Linked DNA regions of Homo sapiens: region 2 is linked to region 1. Evidence: promoter capture Hi-C in 16 types of primary human blood cells and fetal thymus (Javierre and others, 2016). All regions are on one chromosome and are shown on one strand. Each heading gives the region's core, a stretch centred on a gene start or on the middle of the fragment in contact. The rest is flanking DNA. Distances are from core to core; before and after follow the strand shown. Region 1 holds the start of MCPH1 (microcephalin 1). Region 2 overlaps MCPH1 (microcephalin 1).

The links. The method cuts DNA at HindIII sites, captures the fragments that hold promoters and counts their contacts. A CHiCAGO score of 5 or more calls a contact.
Region 2: a contact is called between a fragment that was not itself captured here and the fragment with the promoter of MCPH1 in region 1, in 7 of 17 cell types (total B cells, fetal thymus, non-activated CD4 T cells and 4 more). The highest score is 8.2, in total B cells.

Annotation. Positions count from the first base shown.
Region 1 is chr8:6,402,378-6,407,876 of GRCh38, forward strand. It overlaps MCPH1 (microcephalin 1), which reads left to right and starts at 4,250. Exons shown (of 14, transcript NM_024596.5): 1 at 4,250-4,312. The coding sequence starts at 4,291. MCPH1-DT (MCPH1 divergent transcript) reads right to left here and starts at 4,171. Exons shown (of 2, transcript NR_040040.1): 1 at 3,329-4,171; 2 at 1,179-2,743. RefSeq lists silencers at 3,992-4,071, 4,332-4,511. The HindIII fragment of the contact is 9,682 bases long and covers 1,308-5,499 here.
Region 2 is chr8:6,594,541-6,600,025 of GRCh38, forward strand. The region is part of intron 12 of MCPH1 (microcephalin 1); the gene reads left to right. Among named protein-coding and RNA genes, the nearest start is that of MIR8055, 25 kb to the right of the region's middle. RefSeq lists enhancers at 1-301, 4,047-5,246. The HindIII fragment of the contact is 961 bases long and covers 3,756-4,716 here.

The DNA of each region.
Region 1 (5,499 bases), core at 3,000-5,499:
TGGCAAACTATAACCCAGTTGTGTGAGTTATCAGACTCTAGTCTTGTTCATTGTCTTTGAGCAATTTTTTTACCTCTTTAAAAGCTGGATCCTGCCGGTCAGGCACGGTGGCTCACGCCCGTAATCCCAGCACTCTGGGAGGCCGAGGCCGGGGAATCACCTGAGGTCGGGAGTTCGAGACCAGCCATGACCAACATGGAGAAACCCCATCTCTACTACAAATACAAAATTAGCCCACAATCCCAGCTACTTGGGAGGCTGAGGCAGGAGAATCGCTTGAATCTGGGAGGTGGAGGTTGCAGTGAGCCGAGATTGCACCACTGCATTCCAGCCTGGGCAACAAGAGTGATACTCAGTCTCAAAAACAAACAAACAAAACAAAAAACAAAACAAAACCTGGATCCTGCCATCTTACATATTTTGTCAGTAATCAGTATTTCCAATTTTCCTCCCACTCTACTGACTTGACGTCACTGAGAACTAAAACTGATTCCTTCTCAAAGCCTTGCAAGCTGAAGCTGGATGGCTAGACAGAAACTTCAAAAGACTTATCACAACACGTGGGTCTTTCAAATATTTCCCCAGAACACCTGCATCTTCCAGACTGTGCTCTAGGAAATAACCATGATGGCAACACTACCTACCACTACCATCCTCACTAAAGATAGCTGGAGCCCAACATCTAGAAAATTTCATAACTGGCTTACCCTCTAGACTGGGTTTATCGTCTGCTCTGAACATTAATCATTGTTTTTGTTTCCTTGTTCTAATCTATGTTTTTCCCCCTTTTACAGATCTCTCATCTTACAATTTCTAACTCAAATCATCTCCCCACAGCAATCAACTTAGCTTCTTTTTTTTGTTAATGAAATTTCTAGGGAAGTTTCAGATGGAGAAATGTGTGGACCATTCAGGCCCTAAAAGTTGGTATAAAGATTATTTTACTGTGAAAATATTTGATCTAAGAAAGACGCATCAAGAAATTTTATTTGAACTTCCCTTATTTCACTAAAGCAGAGCCCCCAGAAAATACAGCTGCCATTGGCCTCCCTCTGAGGAAGTTTCCTGTAAATTCCACTACTGTAGAGACAGATTGCCCATTCTCATAAGCATCCAAAAGCCCAAAAGAACCTTCCACAACTTCCTACTGAAACTCCAAAATCTCCCAACACATTTTGTTAAGTGGATCTATAAACCTTTATTTCTATTTAGTGAGTTACTCTAAACCTTGTCTTTTCTCCTGTTAACCTGTTGTTATCAGTTAATTTGCAGGTCTTCAAACACAGGACCGACATTGAATGAGGAAAAGCTTTCCTTCCAACATAGACAATACGACTACCTGTAGAACATCATTTTGAATGTACAAAAAATTATTAAGCAGATTTAGCAAGTTTTCAGGACATGAGATCAATTGCAGATATCAACTATATTTCCATATATTAGCAACAATCAGAAACAAATGAAAAAATCACCATTTACGATATTATCAAAAAACACAAGACCTTGCACAGTGGCTCATGCCTGTAATCCCTACACTTTGGGAAGCTGAGGTGGGAGGATTGCTTGAGCCCAGGAGTTCAAGACCAGCCTGGGCAACATAGTGGGACTCCGCCTCTACAAAGAATTTAAAAAATGAATTGGGCATGGTCATGTGTACTTGTAGTCCCAGCTACTCAGGAGGTTGAGGTGGGAGGATAGCTTGATCCCAGGAGGGTCGAGGCTTCAAGATGAGCCATGATCACACCATTGCACTTCAGCCTGGGAGACAGAGTGAGATCCTGTCTCAAAAAAAAAAAAAAAAAAAAAAGAAGAAAAAAAGAAAAACAAAATAAAAAAACAAATACTTAGGTTAAAATCTAACAACAGTTATATTTTTTTTTTTTGAGATGGAGTCTCGCTCTGTTGCCCCAGGTGGAGTGCAGTGGCAAGATCTCTGCTCACTGCAAGCTCTGTCTCCCGGGTTCATGCCATTCTCCTGCCTCAGCCTTCCAAGTAGCTGGGGCTACAGGCGCATGCCACCACGCCCGGCTAATTTTTTGTATTTTTAGTAGAGATGGGGTTTCACTGTGTTAGCCAGGATGGTCTCAATCTCCTGACCTTGTGATCGGCCCGCCTTGGCCTCCCAAAGTGGCAGGCGTGAGCCACTGCGTCTGGCCAGAGAAATTTTAAAAGACCTAAATGTTAATGGGTCAGAAGATTCAATATGGTTAAAATGTCAATTCTCCCCAAATTCATCTGTAGAGTCAACACAATCTCAATCAAAATCCCAGCAGTATTTTTTTGTGCAAAATGAGAAGTCGACTCTAAGATTTAAAAGGAAATCTGAAGAATCTAGAAGATACAAAATAACCTTGAAAAATAAAGTTGTAGGACATAAACTATCTGATTTCATCACTTATTTATATAGCTACAATAATCAAAACAGCATGGTGCTGGCAGCAAAAAGACAAATAGCTCAATGGAACACAATAGGAAGCCTAAAATGAAACACATACATATGCAACACAGATTTTGATGTAAGCACAAAGGAAATGCAGTAGAGACAAAAATAACTTTTTAATAAATGATGCTGGAACATTTGGATATGTATACATGCAAAAAAATGAACTTTGGTCCCTATCCCATACCGTATACAAAAATTAATTAAAAGCAGATCTTATCCTTTGAGTCCAGTAGGTTGAGGCTGCAGTGAGCTGTGATTACACCACTGCATTCCAGCCTGGGCAACGGAGTGAGAAACTGCCTGGAGAAAAAAAAAAAAAAAAGTAGAACCTAGACCTGATATACAACCTAAAGCAGTAATATTTCTAGAAGAAATCCTAGGAGAAAATATTTGTGATCGTGGAGATGAAGAATCTATCAAATACTAAACTTTTTTTACCACCTTGACCAAAAGTAATTGGTTTATATACTTCATCATATCATTTAATTCAAAATCTACAGAGATCAATGTCACTTTCTCAGTAAAAGTACGTGAGTCTTCAATGATGCCCTGAACTCACACTCCCAAGTAAACCATAACACCATATTTCCAGAGTAGAGTTTATTAGAACAATAACTGGTGATAATGATAAATATTGATCAAAGACTGAGCCTAGGAAGTGGGTTTTTTGAGGCTGCATATACTCAAGGCAATTCTTCAGAACCACAGAGGGCTCATTGGATCCTATTAAAAGCTGAGAGTGAATGAATAAACAGATAAAACAGAGACCTGAGTAGACGGTAGTCGATATTCTTTTACATGTATTCTACCTCTAGATTCCATAGAAAGAACTAAAAGTACATGAATTTCACTACCAACATCTCCATCAGTTACCAGCTGTATCACCTTGGATCAGTCAGGTAACCTCCCGCGAATCTGGTTGCTTCCGGGGCAGGGGATCCGCGGGCTGCAGGTTTGAGCCTGGTTGCCGGCAGGGTGGAGCAGCTGGAGGGCCAAGCCTTTGAGCTCCAGGGGGGGTGGCCGGGACAGTGGGTAGTGCCAGCCGATCGGCGTCCTGGGGATTGCCTGAATGTGAGGTCTGGGTTCACCCCGCGGTGACCTGAGTCCTGGGATGCCCCTACAGGGATTTGCTGCCTCAGGGATCCGAAGTCTCTTTCATTCCCTTACTGGGGATTTGAGGTCTGGAGGTACTCCTGCGGGGGTCTGAGATCTCGGGGTCACCCTGTGGGGGTCTGAAGCCTCGGGGTCCCCGCGTGGGGTCTGAGGTATCAGAGTCCCCTCCGTTGGGTCTGAGGTCTCGGGGTCCCCCATCCCCGGGATCGGAGGTCCGGCTCCCCGGAGCAGGCAGGGCGGTGCGTCTGGCCCTGAACAGTAACGTGGCGCGCCAGCCCCAGGTGGTGTCGGGCTAGGGGGGCATAACGGTGCCGAAAGTCCGCACAAAGCCGTCCGCTGGGGTCCCGCCGCGTCCGCGAGGGAATGACTGTGCCCCCTCCCCTTCCTGATCCTCAGCTCAGGTGAGCCCAGATGAGGCGCCGGGTAGCTTCTAAGTCACTAATGGAAATAGAAGGCTAATTCAGGGGTTAGGGGCCGTCGTCCTCCTTACTCCCAGGAGAAGAGAAAAACCCACGGCCCAGCAGCCAGAGGCGCGGCGAGGCGGAATCGGGCCCCCTCCCCGGGGGCTCAGCTCCCTCCAGCCTCCCGCCTCACCTACAGAGAAATCCCGGAAACGCGGATTCAGCGGAGCGCGGTGACGGCGGCGCGCTCACCCCGCGCATGCCCAGTGCCCGCGCGCGCCGCCAGGCTCGCAAGCACCGCGTAGGCCAGCTGGCCGGATCCCGCCGTCTGTCATGGCGGCCCCCATCCTGAAAGGTGAGGTACTTCCTGCTGCCTGCTCCAGCAGCGGGAGTTTGAGGACCGGCACCCCTCGTCGCGGGCGCACTCGGGGGATCCCGTGGGAGGAGCCCCGCTCGCCCCTCCCTCGCTGCCTGTCTCCCCCAGACCCCCTGCCGCCTCCTTCCTCCCCCGCTGCCTGTCCCACCAAAACCCCCTGCTCCTGCTCTCTCCCCCGCTGCCTGTCCCCCCAAAACCCCCGGCTGCCTGCTTCGTCTCCCGTGCTCCCTGTCCCCCCAAACCCCCGACTGCCTGCTTCCTCCCCCGTACTGCTTGTGCCCCAACCCCCGTGCTGCTAGTTCCCCTCAATCCCCCGCTGCCTGCTCCCTCCCCCATGCTGCCTGTCCCCCAAATCCCGCCTTTCCCCCTACCTGCTTTCACCCCTGCTGCCTTAGTCCCTGGATCTGGGGCTCACTGGCAGGCAGAGTCCTGCCCTCCGGAAGTTGGTGTGGGGCCCTCCTGGGTCTGGTCCTGTTCGACCCCCTCTGAGGCCCACCTGGAGGAGCGGCAGTTGAGTTTCTATGCTAATTGTTCCAATAATAGGAGCCGCCTTTTACTGCGGAGTCTTTGTGTGCCAGGCGCTGTGCTTAGGCTAGTATGGTATTGTCTGATTTTTTTAACCGCTCTATCAACTCTCTTATATCATTTTACAGGCAGAAACTAAGGCATCGGACGTTTAGGTGACTCTCCCTGTGTGTGGCTAGTCAGTGCTGACAGGGCCTTAGACCGGAGCTGCTGTCCTAACCAGTATATGATACCGCACGCAGTCCCACCCTCTGTGCACCTGGAAGAGCCCAGGAGAGGGGAATAGCGGACACGTGTCTTGTAGAGTTTGACCGTGAGAAAAAAGGGGCCTGTATTGTGGGGCCTGGAGTCATAAAACCTCATAGCCAAAAGTAAAGACTAGAGGCTTTATACAAAGTCTGTAATCAGATGTGGCTATTTTTCTAATGTTAGTATTTTGTTAAATTAACCTGGTTTTCTTTTAGCGTTACCCCCAATCATTGACCAACGGCACACCTGGAAAATGCTTTTAAACATCAGGTTTTGAGAAGAGGATATCCACTAGAACAGGGGTCCACTCACTATGCCCCCCAGGCCATATCTAGCCTGCTGCCTGTTTTTGTAAGGGTCTACGAGCTAAGAATGTCTTTTACATTTTTAAG
Region 2 (5,485 bases), core at 2,986-5,485, 190 kb after region 1:
ATCTCATGTGTCCATGTTGCTGAGGGCGTCCTGGGCACAGAGCCTGCTCGCATCAGGCCAGATTGTTTGGAGTATTGCCAACTGGCCTTTTTTCTGGAGAAGAAAGTACTGACGCTACGAAGACTTCAGTGTTCTCCTGCAGGGGACTGCAGGGGACTGCAGGGGACTGCAGGGGACTGCAGGGGAAGGGAGGATTGGCCTGTCACTTGCCATCTCTCATTTCTGCGATGCTACAGAGAGGGAAGGGGAGGCATACATATGTCAGAATCTAAATTACAGCATGTGGAAAGACCTGCCCTCGGGGTCAGAGCACACCAGGCTGGGGAGGACCTAGTTTAAAGGGATAGAAGAGACATTACTTTAGCTCCTTCTCTTCAGGGGCTCCATAATGGTTTTAAACTGTTCTTTAAAATCGAAGTTTTTCTAATCTACTTTTGACTTATGTATTAACCAAGAACCTCTTGTAAATCTTAAGACTATATAGTTGTCAAAGACAGGCAACTTGAGGTTGAGTCTGTTGCTAACTAACTTACTGACTTCGCACAAATCACTTTGTCTTTGGGAACCTCGCTCCCCTATCAGTAAAACAGAGATGATTGATTGATTCAAAAGCATTCACTGAGCACCCACTCAGCTGCGAGGCACTGCCTGCATACTTGGGATATGTCAGGGAGTGAGAGAGGCAAGGATCCCTGTCCACATGGAGACTTCATTCCAGCAGAGGAGACACACAGGAATGAGTGAATGGAATAAGCAAATAGGGTATGTACTGTAGGAGCAAACAAGGGATAGAAACATGGGAGATGGGTCAGGAGTGTGGACTCGAGTCCACAGCGCTAAACTGTCCCATTGAGAAGGTGAATGAGTTAAAAGAGATCAGGAAGTTGGCCAAGTAGATGCAGGGGAAAAGTGTTCCCTGGAGAGGGAGCTGGCCAGCTGCATGCACAAGGCCTGATGGACGGCTGAGCCAGTGGGGAAGAGGAGGCAGCAGCACAGTCGGGATGAACTGGCAGGTGGGCTTCTGCTCCAGAAGAGATGCGGGAGCCCTGCAGGTTTGAGTGAAGAGTGCATGGTCCAACACGGTCTTCAGAGCATCGTTCCAGCTGCTGCAGGTTTGAGTGAAGAGTGCACTGTCCAACAAGGTCTTCAGAGCATCATTCCATCTGCTGCAGGTTTGAGTGAAGAGTGCACTGTCCAACAAGGTCTTCAGAGCATCATTCCGGCTGCTGCACAGGGAAGAGCATCAGGGGCAAGAGTTGATGCAGACAGTAATAGATGGTAATAGAGTCAGATACAATTGGGCAGGCAACGGCCCTTTACAGATGACGAAGCATCAGAAAAGTTAGGGTGCAACCATTTGTTTTCAGTTTACAAAAAGGGAAGACGATTAATCCCCAAAAAGGAGCCTGTGAGCGTCAGATGAAGAATTTAAGAAATGAATAATATGGGTCACATGAGACAGTCTCTTTCTTTTTATTCATTTATTTATTTTTACAAAAAAGTATGTTTCTGTGTCCTTCAGCACAGTTTGCAGGAGCATTTAGAGCACACCCGTGGAGTGGCCCTTTTATGCTTGCCAAGCATGCTGAACACCGTAAGCCACGTGTGACACATCTTCCATGGACATGAAAGATATGTTGATCATTTTATTGGGCTCCAGTCTCAGCTCTGCCACGAACTGGCACTGTGCCTTGGACCAAGTCACTTCATCCCTTTGGGTTTGCGTTTGCTCCCCTGGAAGGTAGGGGAGGGGTGCAGTGAGCTCTGGCGTTCTTCTTAGACTCTGCTGCAGCTGCATGAGTGGGTCTATGGCACAGCCCCCTGCCTGCATCATGGCAGGTTATACACAGTAAAGAGATGAAAGGAATTTTTCTGCTAAGGGAAGTAGCCCCATCTGTCAGGATAGTTGGCTCCATTGTGTCTAACGTAGGTATCTTATAAGCCTGTACACATGGCAGCCAAGGGGACCTGGCCGCCAGAGCCGTAGGAGATGACCCAGCACAATGGGCTGGGCAGTAAGGAAGCCAGACTCTGGAGCCAGCGTGGAGGTGCAGGAGCTCGTGAGTATGAGGGCATGATGAGGGGTGCACAGAGGAACCCCTGGGCTAACAGGGGCCCAGGAGACAGTATTACGGCATTGGGCTTTGTATTGCCGGAGACCAGCACAGATCCCACAATGCAACGATGCCAAAAAACGGTAGAACTGAAAACCCCAGCCAGATCAACGCGAGAATAAATCTCTTTTCTGCTGAAATTGATAGCCTCCTAAAATGCTAAGACACATGCAGCGGAGAATAATCATTATTGACCATGAAATAGCTAAGAACCAGCTGAGAAAATACAGAAGGACACACAGTAAGAATGAATGAGAAAACTCTTGTATAGAGGATACGGTCAGAGTTAGCAACCAGTTGCTTCTTCATGTAAATTAAATCAGCGGAGAATCTAAAACCATCCCGTAGACCACATTTAGAGGGTAGGAAGGATGCAATGGGGCCAGGTGGGCAGGAGATGGGCTTAGCATCCAAGCAGGCTGGACTCACAGCCCTCTGCCTGGTGTGTGATCTCAGCACTTCTTGTACCTTATCTAAGCCTCAATGAAGGTAATAAAATCACCTGCCTATAAGCCTGCAGTGAGAATTAGAGGAGCAAATGGATGAGCCTCAGTCCTGTGTGGGGTCTGGCTGCTCACAAGGCACCATGGACGCCGTCTTTACCATCATCACTGTCGACCCGGAGCCAATGGTGAAAGCAGGACACAGGCAAGCCCCAGCGTTTCCCACCATTGTCTTATTTTTTCGGCTTCAGGAAGACATTAGACTTCTAGGAAGAGATTCCTTAAAGCCAGGACTAGAAGGTAGACTCCAGATTTTGGCTACAAGTGGCAAATATGTCTTGTAAGATGAATTTTATGTACTTGTGCCAAGTGCCATTGGAAATACCGAAGACTGTGCAAAAATAAAAGACAACAAACAGCCCCAGGAACCCGGAGCCCTCTCCCAGCCCAGAACATTCACCAGCTCGGCCAAGAGTTCTGCTGGGTTTTCTCTGGGGGCTGGTGCTGCTGTGGACACGACAACCCGGAACACGGAGGGAGGGCTCAGCGCTAGGAAGGGAGAGGGAATGAAGAGGAGTTTCCCTCTCTTTGCTAATTTCTTCGTCTCTGGGAACATTTCCTTCAACAGAGTCCTGCTTTTCTCATCCTCACACCTCACTGCGCCCCTCCTGAACCCACTCCTTTCTGAATATGGTCTACTGTCCTTCCGTGACCCACATCACCTTGGTCCTCTCCCTCATAAGCACATCCTAGGTGGGCCTGCCCTTCACTTACCCATCTCCTTAGAAGAAACGTGAGCTCTCCAAAGGGAAGGGCAGAACCCTGCTTGTTGGTCTTTCTGCCCCCAGCACTTGACCTAGAGCCTTGCACTGAGGACGTGCCACTCATGTCTGCTGAATAAACAGCCACATTTCCAGATGACGATGTCCTTTTCCAGCCAACATCAGCTCAGCGGGCCTTCACGTATTTAGTTATACTTGTGCCTCCGCTCAACAGGGTGAGGATGCTCCTGGACACAGAAATTAGCTCTGAGGCAGGAAGGAGGAAAGGGGATGCTTCTGGGAGGCAAAGGCGGTCAATCAGAGTGAGCACCAGAGACTCCGTGTACCTGGGAAATACGTGGGTTCCCACACCAGCCTTGGGGAGCCAGGGTGGGGAAGAGGGTCTGTAGAGCAAGTTTAGGATGCAGCACATGCCAAGCTTTTCAGAGTCTCACAGTCAGGAACAGAACTCATGCAGGGAGGGGAGGGATTGGAAAGTAGGAGGCAAAGCAGAAGCCCCGAACCCAAAGACAGAGCCGGCGACCGGCCAGAGTGCAGCTCTGAGCCTCAGACATGAGGGGAGAAGAAGGGGATGGGGTGGGGGGCGGTCGTGAGGAATGTCGTTGTCCAGGCTCCACCCGGCCCACCAGCTCCGCAGAGGAAGGAGTGGGCTGGGAGAGGCACACACCAGAACAGCTCTCCTCGGGGCAAAGCAGGCTTTCTTCCCGAACACCCAAGGCTTTCCAAAAGGTAAACACCATTTCCCCCAAGCGACCCCAATGTTTGCTGAAGCAAAACCTCTCGTGTGAGCCGGCGGGCGGCTTCACGACAGGCGTGAGAAGGCCATGGCCCTGTGTGGGTGAGGAAGCGCAGTGCGGCTCCCCCCTGCGTGGTGGGACTAAGAAGAGCCCCCTGCCACCCGAAAGGCGCCCTAACACTTCAGAGAGCGGATGGCTGCCGAGGGTGGCCAGGCTGGAGCTGCGGCTTCCCGCCCGATGCATTGCAGAATGTAACTTTCCAAAATGCATTGCTCTCATCTCAGCTCAGCGTGAAAACACATGTGTGCACACACGCACATGCAGCCCCGCTGAGCTGGGTGGTGAAAAGACCCTAATTAGTTCTGATTCCTTAAGGCATGTATTTTAAAAAGCGTGAAACCTATTGAGATGCTACTTCCTAGCGCGAATACGGGGCTCTTAAAAGTCCTGATAAAAGTGAAAATCCGAGGCGCGCCTGGGAAGTGGGAATGTTCCCTCCAACTCAGGCTTCCACGGTCATGAGTAGGAAGTCCTCTTCCTAATCTCAGTATCTTAAAAAGAAGCCTTGATGTTGTTACGTGATTACCTAAAAGGAATGCCTTCCTCCGCGGACCGGAAGGATATTTTTAAAGGAATGTGAAGCTTGTGACAGGAATTATCGATACCTTTGGAATTTTTTTTTCCAAGTGACTCAGGCTTACTTGAAGCCATTACCTCGGAGTTAGTCAGGGACTGCATGACGCCAGGCCCCAACTGTTTAAAGCAGAGCGCGGCTTAGTGAAAGAATGAAAAAACCGAGGATGTTCTTTGTCCATTATTCTCACCGTGATGAATGATGCTTGTTTTCCTCTCCACTTTAATTAGAATGTTTCTACATTTGCCAAAGAAAATGTTGGAATGGAGACAAAAACCTGAAATTATAGGAACAGGGCTTGATGTAATAGCTTATTTGTAAAGGAAACACAACTTGTTTGGCATTTTATTGAAACAGGAAGTTCAGAAGCTTAGTACACACAAGTACAACAAATTCTCAGGTGCTTGTTGAGTCATCTGTTGTTGGAAATAGTCTCCTGGTAGTTTTCCCCTTGATTTACTTTTTATCTTCATTTTGTTTTTTTGAAAGTAGTGAGGGTAGGAAGTTACAGAGAGATTCAATTAGAGATTATGTGTATTTTTAAAAATCAGCTATCAAGATTAAATAAAGCAAGCGGGAATTCTCTCCTTGCTCCCATATACCAATTTTTGTAATTATGTACAAGATGAGGGAAACCAAAGAAAAACAATAACTTGCTTCAATGCAATTACTAATTCAAAAGTAACCATTACTCTGGGGAATTGTATTAGAGATTAACAAAGAGGAAAAGTACTGTGGTTTTCTTTCTCTATGTTCTATTTGCTAGGAAGCGGTC